Regions from separate parts of the Homo sapiens genome. Here region 1 is linked to region 2. Evidence: promoter capture Hi-C in 16 types of primary human blood cells and fetal thymus (Javierre and others, 2016). All regions are on one chromosome and are shown on one strand. Each heading gives the region's core, a stretch centred on a gene start or on the middle of the fragment in contact. The rest is flanking DNA. Distances are from core to core; before and after follow the strand shown.

What was found. Contacts are between HindIII fragments. The CHiCAGO score rates a contact against its expected background, and 5 or more counts as called.
Region 1: a contact is called between a fragment that was not itself captured here and the fragment with the promoter of IFI6 in region 2, in 14 of 17 cell types (naive CD8 T cells, non-activated CD4 T cells, naive B cells and 11 more). The highest score is 10.7, in naive CD8 T cells.

The regions. Positions count from the first base shown.
Region 1 is chr1:27,304,921-27,310,688 of GRCh38, forward strand. It overlaps WDTC1 (WD and tetratricopeptide repeats 1), which reads left to right. Exons shown (of 16, transcript NM_001276252.2): 15 at 81-273; 16 at 1,266-3,716. The coding sequence ends at 1,463. Among named protein-coding and RNA genes, the nearest start is that of TMEM222, 14 kb to the right of the region's middle. RefSeq lists enhancers at 2,336-2,861, 2,862-3,387, 3,388-3,912. The HindIII fragment of the contact is 2,559 bases long and covers 2,782-5,340 here.
Region 2 is chr1:27,668,349-27,674,301 of GRCh38, forward strand. It overlaps IFI6 (interferon alpha inducible protein 6), which reads right to left and starts at 3,844. Exons shown (of 5, transcript NM_002038.4): 1 at 3,775-3,844; 2 at 897-998; 3 at 110-187; 4 at 1-27. The coding sequence starts at 966. RefSeq lists enhancers at 1,038-1,097, 3,876-4,215. The HindIII fragment of the contact is 12,379 bases long and covers 2,382-5,953 here.

The DNA.
Region 1 (5,768 bases), core at 2,811-5,310, 360 kb before region 2:
TTACCTAGGCCATGCAGCCTCTACTTGAGGCTGTAGGGCAGTACCCCACCTGACCTCCCTGCCCTTTGCCCCCCCGCCAGCAACGCTCAGTATATCGTCAGTGGCTCTGACGATGGCTCCTTCTTCATCTGGGAAAAGGAGACCACCAACCTGGTCCGTGTGCTCCAAGGGGATGAGTCCATTGTCAACTGCCTGCAGCCACACCCCAGCTACTGCTTCCTGGCCACCAGTGGCATCGATCCTGTTGTGCGGCTCTGGAACCCCCGACCAGAGGTGAGGGTGCAGAGCCAAGCAGAGAGGAGGGCAGGGACTCTGTGGAAGGCTCCAGTGGAGCCTGCTAGCGCAGGGAAGAGAAATGAGCCACCCAGAGGCTAGAAGCTGCTAAGTAAGCCTTACCCCGGGGCCCAAGGCTGTGTTCTCAGATTCCAGAAGCTCCAAATGCAGCAGCAATTCTCCAGAAGCTGTGCAGAGGCCCTGGTCACAAGGGAACTATGCAGGCTTTGGCATCTGGTAGGCCTAAGTTTGAATCCAGTCTCCTCACTCGCTGCCTGAGAGACTTCACCATCTCTGACCCAGGCTTTTAATCATCTGTACATTGGGAATGGGAATGACAGCACCACCTTGAAAGGTTGTGGTGAGAAGTAAAGAAGAGATGCCTGTGAAGTGTCCAGCCCACAAGGACACTTAGGACAGTGGAGTCCCCTCCACTCCCAGGGTGGGTAGCCAGGGAAGCTGGCTTGGTGCCTCCCCTTCCCCTCTGCCCTACTGCTTCCCTCTTCCCAGCTGGCAAAACAAAAGTCAAGTGGTATGTCTGATTCCCAAGATAATTTGCTGTGACTTTTAAAGAGAGGACCCCTATAGGCTTCCCCATTGAGAGGAGAGGAGAAAGAAAGATGAAGCAAGAGTTGTGGCAACAAAACAGAATGGGGTGGGGAAGTTGTATCTGCCCCTTGTCCCAGGTATCCCAGTATGTGTGTCCAACATATCCTGGTGTGTACTGTCCCCCACGTATATCCCAGCATGTTATGACCTGCCTGTATATCCTGAGGTGGCGTATCTCCCATATATATTCCAGCGTGAGCACCCCCAACAATATGTAGCCAAGGTTGTGTGTTCCCCTCCACCATATACACCTCCTGGCATGTATGTGTACCTCCCCCTATAGATAGTTTAGTCTGTGTATTTCCCTCCCCCTCCCCTATACGTGTACCCTGGTGCCTCTCCCTCCCTGAGCCCCACGTGTGTCACCCCTTTCTCCACCACAGAGTGAAGACCTCACAGGCCGAGTCGTGGAAGATATGGAGGGTGCTTCACAGGCCAACCAGCGGCGCATGAATGCAGACCCGTTGGAGGTGATGCTGCTCAACATGGGCTACCGGATCACGGGCCTGAGCAGTGGGGGTGCCGGGGCCTCTGATGATGAGGACAGCTCTGAGGGCCAGGTGCAGTGCCGGCCCAGCTAGACCCTCCAGCCCTGGTCCCCAGCCCCTGCTACTGGCTGGACCCTCTGCCCTGGGCAGGAGGTCAGGGGATTCTGTTTTGGTTTGTCTTCCCCACCACCCTTTTTTTTCATTTCCCCTGTTTTGTTTGTTAGTTTGGCGTTAGGGGTGGAGGTTGCTACAACTTGCTGGCTTTCGGACTCTGGGCTGATTGTCCCCTGACTATCCCCAGCCCTGAAAAAAAGAGCAGGAGGGGACACCCCTCCATATGCCCCCCCCCATCTCCTGCTTTCATGTCCCTGGAGGGCTCTGGCCTGCCTCAAAACCCCTTCTGCCTCAGGTGGGGAGGAACAAGCTGAACTGTCTTCAGGGACTGTCCTGCCCTTTAGCTGGCAGCAGCAGGAGGAGTGGGATTCCCAATTGGTAAGGGCTCGCCTTGGCCTGTTGCCACTCTTGCTCCCTAGCCTGCAAGGCTAGCTCCCCTGTGGTCTTCAGGAAAGGTTTTGAAAAAGGATGGGTCCCACCCTCCCTCCAGAGCCACCAGTGTTAGAGCGGAGCCCAAAGGAAGGATGGGAGCCCTGGAGTGGGCAAGACCAGGCCACCTGCTGAGGTCGCTGTGGAGCACCCTCGCTCCTCTCCTGGCTACTAGCTCTGGCCCTGCACCTACTCTCACTGGCCACCTCTGGAGGCTCTGCCTTTCCCAAGGGCCCTGGCAGAGGGTGGGGCACTGCACCTTACCCCACCCATCCATGCCAGCACTTCTGCACTACGGCCATTCTCCTCTTGGGCGCTCCTCAGCCTCACTGTGACCTTTCTGCCAGAGCTCCCAGCCAGGCCTACTCTGCTGAGGTGGCGCTTCCTGCTAAGGGCCCTTCTCTGCCCTTTCTGCCCTCCTTCCCATCCCACATGCTGAGCCGCCACAAAGACCAAAGAAGTGATGGCTTTTCTCTGTCCCCTGCTGCTCTGAGGGGAGAGGGGTGGGTCTCCTGAGCCACTCAGATGGGAAAGTCCCTTACTCGGCCCCTCCCTCCCCAGCAGCCCCAAGCTTTACACTGGATGCAGCGATCAACCCACCACTCACCAGGCCTCTCCTCCCCTCTGCCCCCGGCTCTTAGCTCCAGCTGCTCCAGGTAGTTGGTTCATCCTTCCCCCTCTCTCCCTCCCTGCTTCCCCTTCAGTGCTTACTTGGCTCCAGCCCTCCAGCTGCAGCCCCTGGGGAAAAGCAGCCTCCCTTCTCCTCTCCCTCCACTCCCTCGCTCCCTCCCTCAGCCCCTGTCTCTGCCAGGTGCCTCCTCTCAGTCAGGCTTCAGAGCAGCCCTGGAGACAGGAGGGCCATGTTAAAAGCTTTTTCACAGTTTTAAGAAGACAAGTGGAGGGTGAGGATAGTGGTGGGGGGTCTGGCACCATCTCATTGCTTTAATCCCAGCAACACAGGTGGCAGCTTCTCCCCCTTCCTTCCCACCCCAGTCCCTCTTCCCACCCCTCTCTTCTAGCTTGGTAATGAAGTATATTTATTGGTGAAGGAAACAGCTGCTGCTGCTTCTCCTGCTGCTGGGACCTGCTCCCCTGTCTCTTCTCCGTGACCTTTCTCTAGCCAGGGAGAAGGGAGAGCAGGAGTATTGGGGCTGGGCCCTGGGGCCCAAGGACCAGCTGGGTCCCCTTTGCTTTCTTGTGTTCCAGCCACCTGCCATTTCCTCCCTGCCTCCCACCCTCCCTCCCTGCCCCCTGTCCTGCTTCCCACCCCCTGCCTGCCCAGCCTGGGCCCTGCAGTGTGGAGAGACACATAAGCCTTACTGTCCTCTGGGGGCAGGAGCCGAGCCTTTTTGTTGCTCCGCTCCCAGGAGAGTGAGGGTGACGCAATTGATTAAAACCATTTTGTTCTAGGTGTGGCTGGTGGCATTTGTGGGGTGCAGATGGGTCTTGGAACCAAAGTGAGGGCACCTGGTCCCTCACCTCTGTAGCTCTATGACTTAGTAACCACACCTCTACTGGACAGAATGAGGCCTGCCTTGAAGGGTCACCGTGAGCAGCGGCCACCCAGCCCAGCAGGGCTGAGTGCAGAGCCCAGCTCTCATGGCTGTGATTTGTAATCATCAGCTTTCACTCTCTGGCTGTTTTCTCATCAGTAAAATAAGGGACTTGGAATCTTAGTGGTTTTTCAAACCATTTTACATTGTGACCCAATATACACATGATTACTTGTAGATATGTGTGTGTGTATATATATATAAAAAAAATGAACAAAAGTTTTACACAATAATATTTACCCTTGCTACATGCAGTGTACTCTGCTTACCCTTCTGTTTTATTAGGGAAAAAAATATGGCTATAACCCACTAAATTGATTTCACATATGCAAGTTTTTGAAGTGCCCTGGATTAGATAATCTCTTAGACTATAGGTTCCTGAACTTTCTTAGCTCACAGCACCATTACCATCTCAGTAATTTTTTCATGGAGCCTCTAAGCCAAAAGAAATAACAGTTCAATTTATTAAGTAGTTAAGTCCAAATCACTTAAAAAGTATTTATGTCCTAACAAGTTAGTTGCCATTTAAAAAATAATACACCTGAATTGGAAGAAACAATATTTATTTCATTCTTTTTTTTTTTTTTTTTTTTTGAGACGGAGTCTTGCTCTGTTGCCCAGGCTGGAGTGCAGTGGCATGATCTCAGCTCACTGCAACCACCGCCTCCCGGGTTCAAGTGATTCTCCTACCTCAGCCTCCCAAGTAGCTGGGATTACAGGCATGTGCCACCATGCCCAGCTATTTTTTTTTTTTTGCATTTTTATTTATTTTTTATTTTTTATTTTTTTTTTGAGACAGTTTCGTTTTTGTCGCCCAGGCTGGAGTGCAATTGTGCAATTGCGGCTCACTGCAACCTCCGCCTCCTGGGTTCAAGCGATTCTCCTGCCTCAGCCTCCCAAGTAGCTGGGATTACAGGTGCCCGCCACCACACCCAGCTAATTTTTTGTATTTTTAGCAGAGATGGGGTTTCACCACCTTGGCCAGGCTGGTCTCAAACTCCTGACCTCAGGTGATCTGCCCGCCTCAACCTCCCAAAGTGCTGGGATTACAGGTGTGAGCCACCGCGCCCAGCCTTCATTCTTAAACAACTGCAATTACTAATGGGATCTATGCTGCCCATTGGGCACTGAACAACTTGTTAAATTTTCTAATCAAAGCAAACACTGCTGCCTTCATTTCCTGTCCCACATTGATTTTCATTTGCTTTTTATCACAGCAACCACTAAAGACCCAGCTTCTTTTTTTTTTTTTTTTTTTTTTTTGAGGCGGAGTCTTGCTCTGTTGCCCAGGCTGGAGTGCAGTGGTGCGATTTCGGCTCACCGCAAGCTCCACCTTCTGAGTTCATGCCATTCTCCTGCCTCAGCCTCCTGAGTAGCTGGGACTACAGGCAGCTGCCACCAGACCTGGCTTATTTTTTATGTTTTTAGTAGAGATGGGGTTTCACCACGTTAGCCAAGATGGTCTCGCTCTCCTGACCTTGTGGTCCACCCGCCTCGGCCTCCCAAAGTGCTGGGATTACAGGCATGAGCCACTGCGCCCGGCCAAGACCCAGCTTCTTAAAGATGACATCATCAAAAGGATTGTGGCATAATGTAATAATGGAACTGTGAACTACCTTGAGCTAATAGTTCTCTCATTAGCCAAAGATGTTGAATATCTTTCAAAATATCCTACTTTGCCCCCTGTGAATTTGCTGTGGGTGCCCTCAGGCACCTTGATGCACAGTTGGGGAACTATGGTTTAGTCTGTGGGAATAGCAGTTCCACTACTGAAACTACTGAGAGGTCCTGCCGGAAACACAATAGGTGGTATTATAAAACAGATACTGTGGGCTGGTATCATTCCTCTGTGTACCCAAATTAACGTCTGCAGAAGCTTCTTGAAGGCATTTCCAGACCAGACAAAGGAAGGACAATGTTCCAGACCAGGGAGTAGTGCAGAGTCTCAGGTTCCTTCATGAACCCTGAGTGACTCCATCTGGCTGGATTGTAGAGGGTAGACTGGAGGAGCAGTCAAACTGAAGGACTTCCTATGGCTGGTGAGAGACCACAGACTCAATCCTGTAGGCAAGGGAGGCATTGGAAGACTTCACGAGGGTCTCCATTTCATTTGGAGTTGGTACTCCATTTTTTAAAAAATTAATAGCCTTTACTTTCTAGAGCAGTTTTAGGCTTACAGAAAATTGAGCAGATAGTATAATGAGTTTCATATAACCCTCTTTCCCCAGCTCAATTTTCCCAATTATTAACATCTTGCATTAGTGTGTTGTTGTAATTAATGAACCAATATTGATACATTATG
Region 2 (5,953 bases), core at 2,594-5,093:
GCGCGGGCAGCCCGGCGACTGCGAGTCCTGGAGGAACAGGAGCAGGTGAGGGAGCGTCCGCGGCAGAGGCCCGCCCCGCCTGCCCGAGATCCTCGCCCTCCAGACCCACCTCCTCCGACGGCCATGAAGGTCAGGGCCTTCCAGAACCCGGAGCCGCTGTCCGAGCTCTCCGAGCACTTTTTCTTACCTGCAGGAGAGCAGACAAAGCGTAGTGGGGGTGTTGGGGTGGGACACAGGGGTCCCCTACTCTGTGTCTGATGCTCAGGACCACTCCTGGAGGCGGGGGCCACCACTCTCCTACTCAGAGAGCCTCACAGAGGGGAAGGGACTTTCCCCTAGGCGCCGAGCCTGGCACAGAACTAGCATCGAGTAAATTTCGGTAGGATGGAGGAATGAACAGAGTAGTGGGATTTGAATCTGGGACTCTGGCGACACCAACCCTGCGCTGTCCATTGGAATGGACGCCAGGGTCTCTACAGAAGCACGCCAGACCCTCTACACCCCGGACCCTGAAACTCTCTCCTTTATCCCACACTCCTCCCATCCCCCAGCACCCTTATATGCCTCCTTACTTGTCCCCTTACCTGCACCCTTATCTGTTCCCTTACCTGCACCCTTACCTGCATCCTTACCCACATCCTTACCTGCATCCTTACCCGCATCCTTACCCGCACCCTTACCTGCATCCTTACCTGCATCCTTACCCGCATCCTTACCTGCATCCTTACCCGCATCCTTACCTGCACCCTTACCTGCATCCTTACCCGCATCCTTACCTGCATCCTTACCCGCATCTTTACCTGCATCCTTACCCGCATCCTTACCTGCACCCTTACTTGCATCCTTACCTGCACCCTTACCTGTCCCCTTACCTGCATCCTTACCCGCATTCTCACCTGCCTCCACCCCACTGCAAGTGAAGAGCAGCAGGTAGCACAAGAAAAGCGATACCGCCTTCTGCCGCATGGTGGCGCCGCGCGCGGGCTCCGTCACTAGACCTGCGAACGGGCGAGAGGGAGATGGTCCCCGGAGCATTTTTGGAGCTCATCAGCTCCGTTGTTTTCCCTTCCAGTTCCAACTGAATCAGTAAAAAGCAGCGAGGTGTGGTGAATGGAACCCAGGATCCCTCTCAGGAGCCTCGGGAATCCGTTTCCTCTCCGCATCAGTGGCAGAGATGTCCCTGCCCCAACCGGTGGGTGTGCGGATTCTGTGCGGATTCGCACGGTGTTTGGCACGTGGTAAGCTCCGCAGATGTCAATATCATGACTGTGGTTGTTCCTGGCCTTGTACCCAAGTGACCTTGGGCAGGATACTAGGGTACTTTGCTTCTCTGGGCTTCAGTTTGTTTATTTCTAAAATTGGGGTATTAATAGAGTCTATTTCAGAGGGTACTTGTTAATTTAATAACTGTTCCACGCTGTATCCCCGGCACTTTGAACAGTGCCTGACGCATAGAATTTGCTTTAAAAAAATTTTTAAGACAAACTCATTCTTACAATGCATTGAATATCTACTGGCACCAAACGTTGGCCTCACATCAACTTAATTTTTTTTTCAGAAAGAAAGCACAGAAGGGTGTGTGGAAAAAGAAACTCAGTTTCCCTCACCGTACGAGAGGCTTCTGACAGCAGAAGTGTGGGGGTTTCTCCCCACCAGCAAGCAAACAATCAGTCCTCTGGTGAACACCAGCTGAGGGTCCCCAAATTCAATTCTGACACCACTATGGGTAGATAGTGGCCGATCCCACATGTTGAGGGTTCAGTCCCCCAGACTGCCAATCGAAAGCCCTAGGTTGTTTTACCTGTGTTTCTGACTGACTATAAACTGGGGTTCCCACAATTCCCTCCTGCAGTTTTACTAATTTGCTAGAGCAGCTCACAGAACTCAGGGAAACACTTTACTTACATATACTGGTTTCTTTCTTTAAAAAAAAAAAATTGATCTTGTTGTTGTTTTGAGACAGGGTCTCACTCTATTGCTCAGGCTGGAGTGCAGTGGCCCCATCTCAGCTCACTGAGACCTTCGCCTCCCAGGCTCAAGTGATCCTCCCACCTCAGCCTCCAGCATAGCTGGGACTACAGGTATGCACCACCACGCCCAACTAATTTTTTTTTTTTTTTTTGAGATGGGGTTTCACCATGTTGCCCAGGCTGATCTTGAACTCCTGAACTCACGCAATCTGCCTGCCTCAGCCTCCCAAAGTGCTGAGATTACAGGCATCAGCCACCATACCCAGCTACATTTACTGGTTCCTTATGGATATTACAAATGCTCCGGATGAAGAGATGCATAGGGCAAGGTATGGGAGAAAGGGCATGGAGTTTCCATTCCTCTCCAGAAGCACCACCCACTGGAGACCTCCTTGTATTCGGCTATCTGGAAGCTTGTCAAACCCTGTCCTTTTGTGTTTTTATGGAGGCTTCATTACATAGGCATGACTGATTAAATCACTGCCCATTGGTAATCAGCTTAACCTTCAGCCCCTCTCCCCTCCCCAGAGGAAATGCCAGCCATCAGTCAACTTATTAGACAGTTATCACTCAAAAGATATTTATCACTTTGAAGATTCCAAGGATTTTAGGAGTTGTATGCCAGGAACTGGGGGATGAAAAAATATATTTTACAATATCACAAGGGATAAAGGTCACACAGCAAATTGTGCAACATGGGTACACATTCAAGACAGTCAGAATTCATGAACCTATGCTCTTTCCTTTATACCACAAAACTGGAAAATGCATATGCCCTCAGACTCACCTCTAATATGATCTTTGTCAGATCAATGCTATTTTCTTAAGTTAAAAAGAAAAACAAGAAACTCCTCTCATGTATTGAGTACTTAGCACTTTATGGCACGCAGTCCACTTGTACCTATAACAACACCACGAAGTAGGTACCATTGTTATCAACCACATGTTATAGATAAGGAAACTGAAGCTCAGAGAGGTTAAGTAATATTCCCAAGGCTGCCTAGCCAGGTCATGGCAAAGTCAGGGTTTAAACCCACAATTGGCTAATACCCAAGCCCACATTTTTTTTTTTTTTTTTTTGAGATGGAGTCTTTCTCTGTCGCCCAGGCTGGAGTGCAGTGGCGCAATCTCATCTCACTGCAAGCTCCACCTCCCAGGTTCATGCCATTCTCCTGCCTGCCTCAGCCTCCCGAGTAGCTGAGACTACAGGCGCCCACCACCAAGCCCGGCTAATTTTTTTTGTATTTTTAGTAGAGACAGGGTTTCACTGTGTTAGCCAGGATGGTCTCGATCTCCTGACCTCGTGATCCGTGGGTCTCGGCCTCCCAAAGTGCTGGGATTACAGGCGTGAACCACCACGCCCGGCCACCAAGCCCACATTTTTAACAACCACTCCAGATGGCTTCATCTATCCTTAAAGATGAACTCACTGTCACATTGGATCCTATAATAAAGGGGATTCTAAAATCATCCAGTCCTTTGAGCAGCAAAGGCAACTTAACTTTCCTTTTACAGAGGAAGTAATTAAGGCTCCAAGAGGTGACAGTGTTAAGGCCACAGATCGCTGATATTGCACCTGTAAGCTGGGTCTCATGCCACTTGGGGTTTTGCATCCCATCTCCCTAAAAATCTCCAACCCATCCTCTTAGACAAGTCCCAGCCCAGAGCACTAAAAGGGACCCAGGAGTGCTGCCTCCCAGGAGAAGGGGCCTCCTGGCTCTCAGAACATGAGATTTACAGGCAGACAGGCAGCCTGGCAGAGGGTGGCAGCTTGATGCCCACACTTCATAGCTCCTGAGTTTACCTTGGAGGAGAGAAGAGAAGCAATCTTCAGCCCGGAGCCTGCTGATAGATGGGCACAGCAGCGAGTAAACGGTTCTCCGGCTGAAGGCTGGCTTTTTATCATCACTTGTGGATCCTCCCACGTCTCACCCTAGGCAGCCAATCCCTGTCGGAGTTTCTATTTCTGCACTCTGCAGTTTCATTTTCCCCTCTCTCCCAGCTCCTGCACTCTGCAGAGTTTCATTTTCCCCTCTCTCCCAGCTCCGCCCAGCGGGAACATTTGTGTGCTGCCTGCTGGCAGAAAAATGCACTTCAAGCTGAGGACTTTTGGAGCCGCTAAGGGTATTCAAAGCATGTCACACTATGATGAGAGCCACGGCCATACTGGGCTTAGTGAAGCCTGATCACCAGCTCCCCCTGGGGCACACAGGCCTTTCACCATTCAGTCCAATTAGTAAACAACACCTATCATTTATTGAGCACTTGCTGCATGCCAGGGTCTGTGCAAAGTGCTCTATTTACATGATCTTTTTCCAATCCCACAGTAGTCATGTGACATACCATATGCTGTTTATAAACCCCCAGAACTTTGGAAATTAAGTCACTTTGTTCCATTGTTCTCTCAGGCTGGCTGCTTCTGGGTCATGGGCATATGGTAAGACCAGTGAAGCCTGTGTTCATGTGGCCATCATGATAGATCTTGAGTTTCAAGATGGGTCCCCTGGCCCTAGGTAATGAACTGAGCATTCTTTAAAGCCTTTGGATGGTGATGCTTGAAGTGCTATGGGTCAGAAATGCAACCTCTATTTGGAGAACATAGAAATTCCAGTAAGGATGAATCATTGCCTTCTCCCAAGTGGAAGGGGTCTGAAATAATTGACCTGCCACCAGATGGCTGGCTATTCTCATTGAGAAATTTTGCCATATTGCTACCTGCTGCTGGCAGATTGGCTATATTTTGGCAATTGCCAGATCAGTTTTGGTGAGAGGGAGCCCAAGTTGTTGGACTCATTTCTAACCCCCATCCTTACCACCTTGGACACTCATAGGTCTATTGCAAGGCAATAGTGAGGCTAAGTTTAGAGGCTGGCTGACATCCACAGGATGGGACATCCTGGCCATTGGGCTGTAGAGCCTCCTCTGCAGCAGATGATCTCTGGTCAGCATTAACATGAGACATAGAGATCCAGGTGCTTTATGCCCATTCAGAGTTCATTCTTATGCCCCTAACCCACACCTGCTTATTCCCAATCTTCCAATCTTGTTCCATCCATGCCTTTGACCAACCAGCCAAGCCATTTGCCTCTTATTAGGAATTGGTGTATGTCTGTACTTCAGTCCATCTCTCTCTCTCTCTCTCTGCATACAGAGGGAACAACACGGTATACTGCTCCTAGTTCTGCCCCCTGGGAGGATTCACTATTATTCAGTGCCACCCCCAAATGGGGCTGTAATAGAGTGGTCCGTTTCCAGCTGATACCAAAATATTATACTGACTTATCTGTGAATTGAGTTTGACTCCTTTCCTCCATTATCTGTTGGTTGCTGGGAACACTCCATGAGGCCATATATATGGGTCAAAGAGAAAACCCAGAGAAACAGAGTTGGGCGCCACAGGACTCTGAGCTCCCTGTTTATTTAATTTACTCAAGCCTTTTAGACCCCTTTGCTCAGCCTTGAATATACCATTTCCATCATATATTTTTTGTTTTGTTTTGTTCTTTGTTTTTTGTTGTTTTTGTTTTTGTTTTTGAGACAGTCTTGCACTGTTCCCCAGGCTGGAGTGCAGTGGTGTGATCTTGGTTTACTGCAACCTCTGCCTCCTGGGTTCAAGCGATTCTCCTGCCTCAGCCTCCCAAGTAGCTGGGATTACAGGTGCGCGCCACCATGCCCGGCTAATGTTTTTTGTATTTTTAGTAGAGATGGGGTTTTGCCATGTTGGCCAGGCTGGTCTTGAACTCCTGACCTCAGGTGATCCACCCACCTCTACCTCCCAAAGTGCTGAGATTACAGGTGTGAGCTGCTGTGCCTGGCCTCTTTGTTGTTTTGTCGGTTGGTTGGTTGGTTTGTTAGAGACAGGGTCTCACTCTGTTGCCGGGGCTGGAGTGCAGTGGTACAATCATAGCTTACCGCAGCCTTGACTTCCTAGGCTCAAGAAATCCTCCCAACTCACCCTCCCAAGTATCTGGGACTATAGGCAT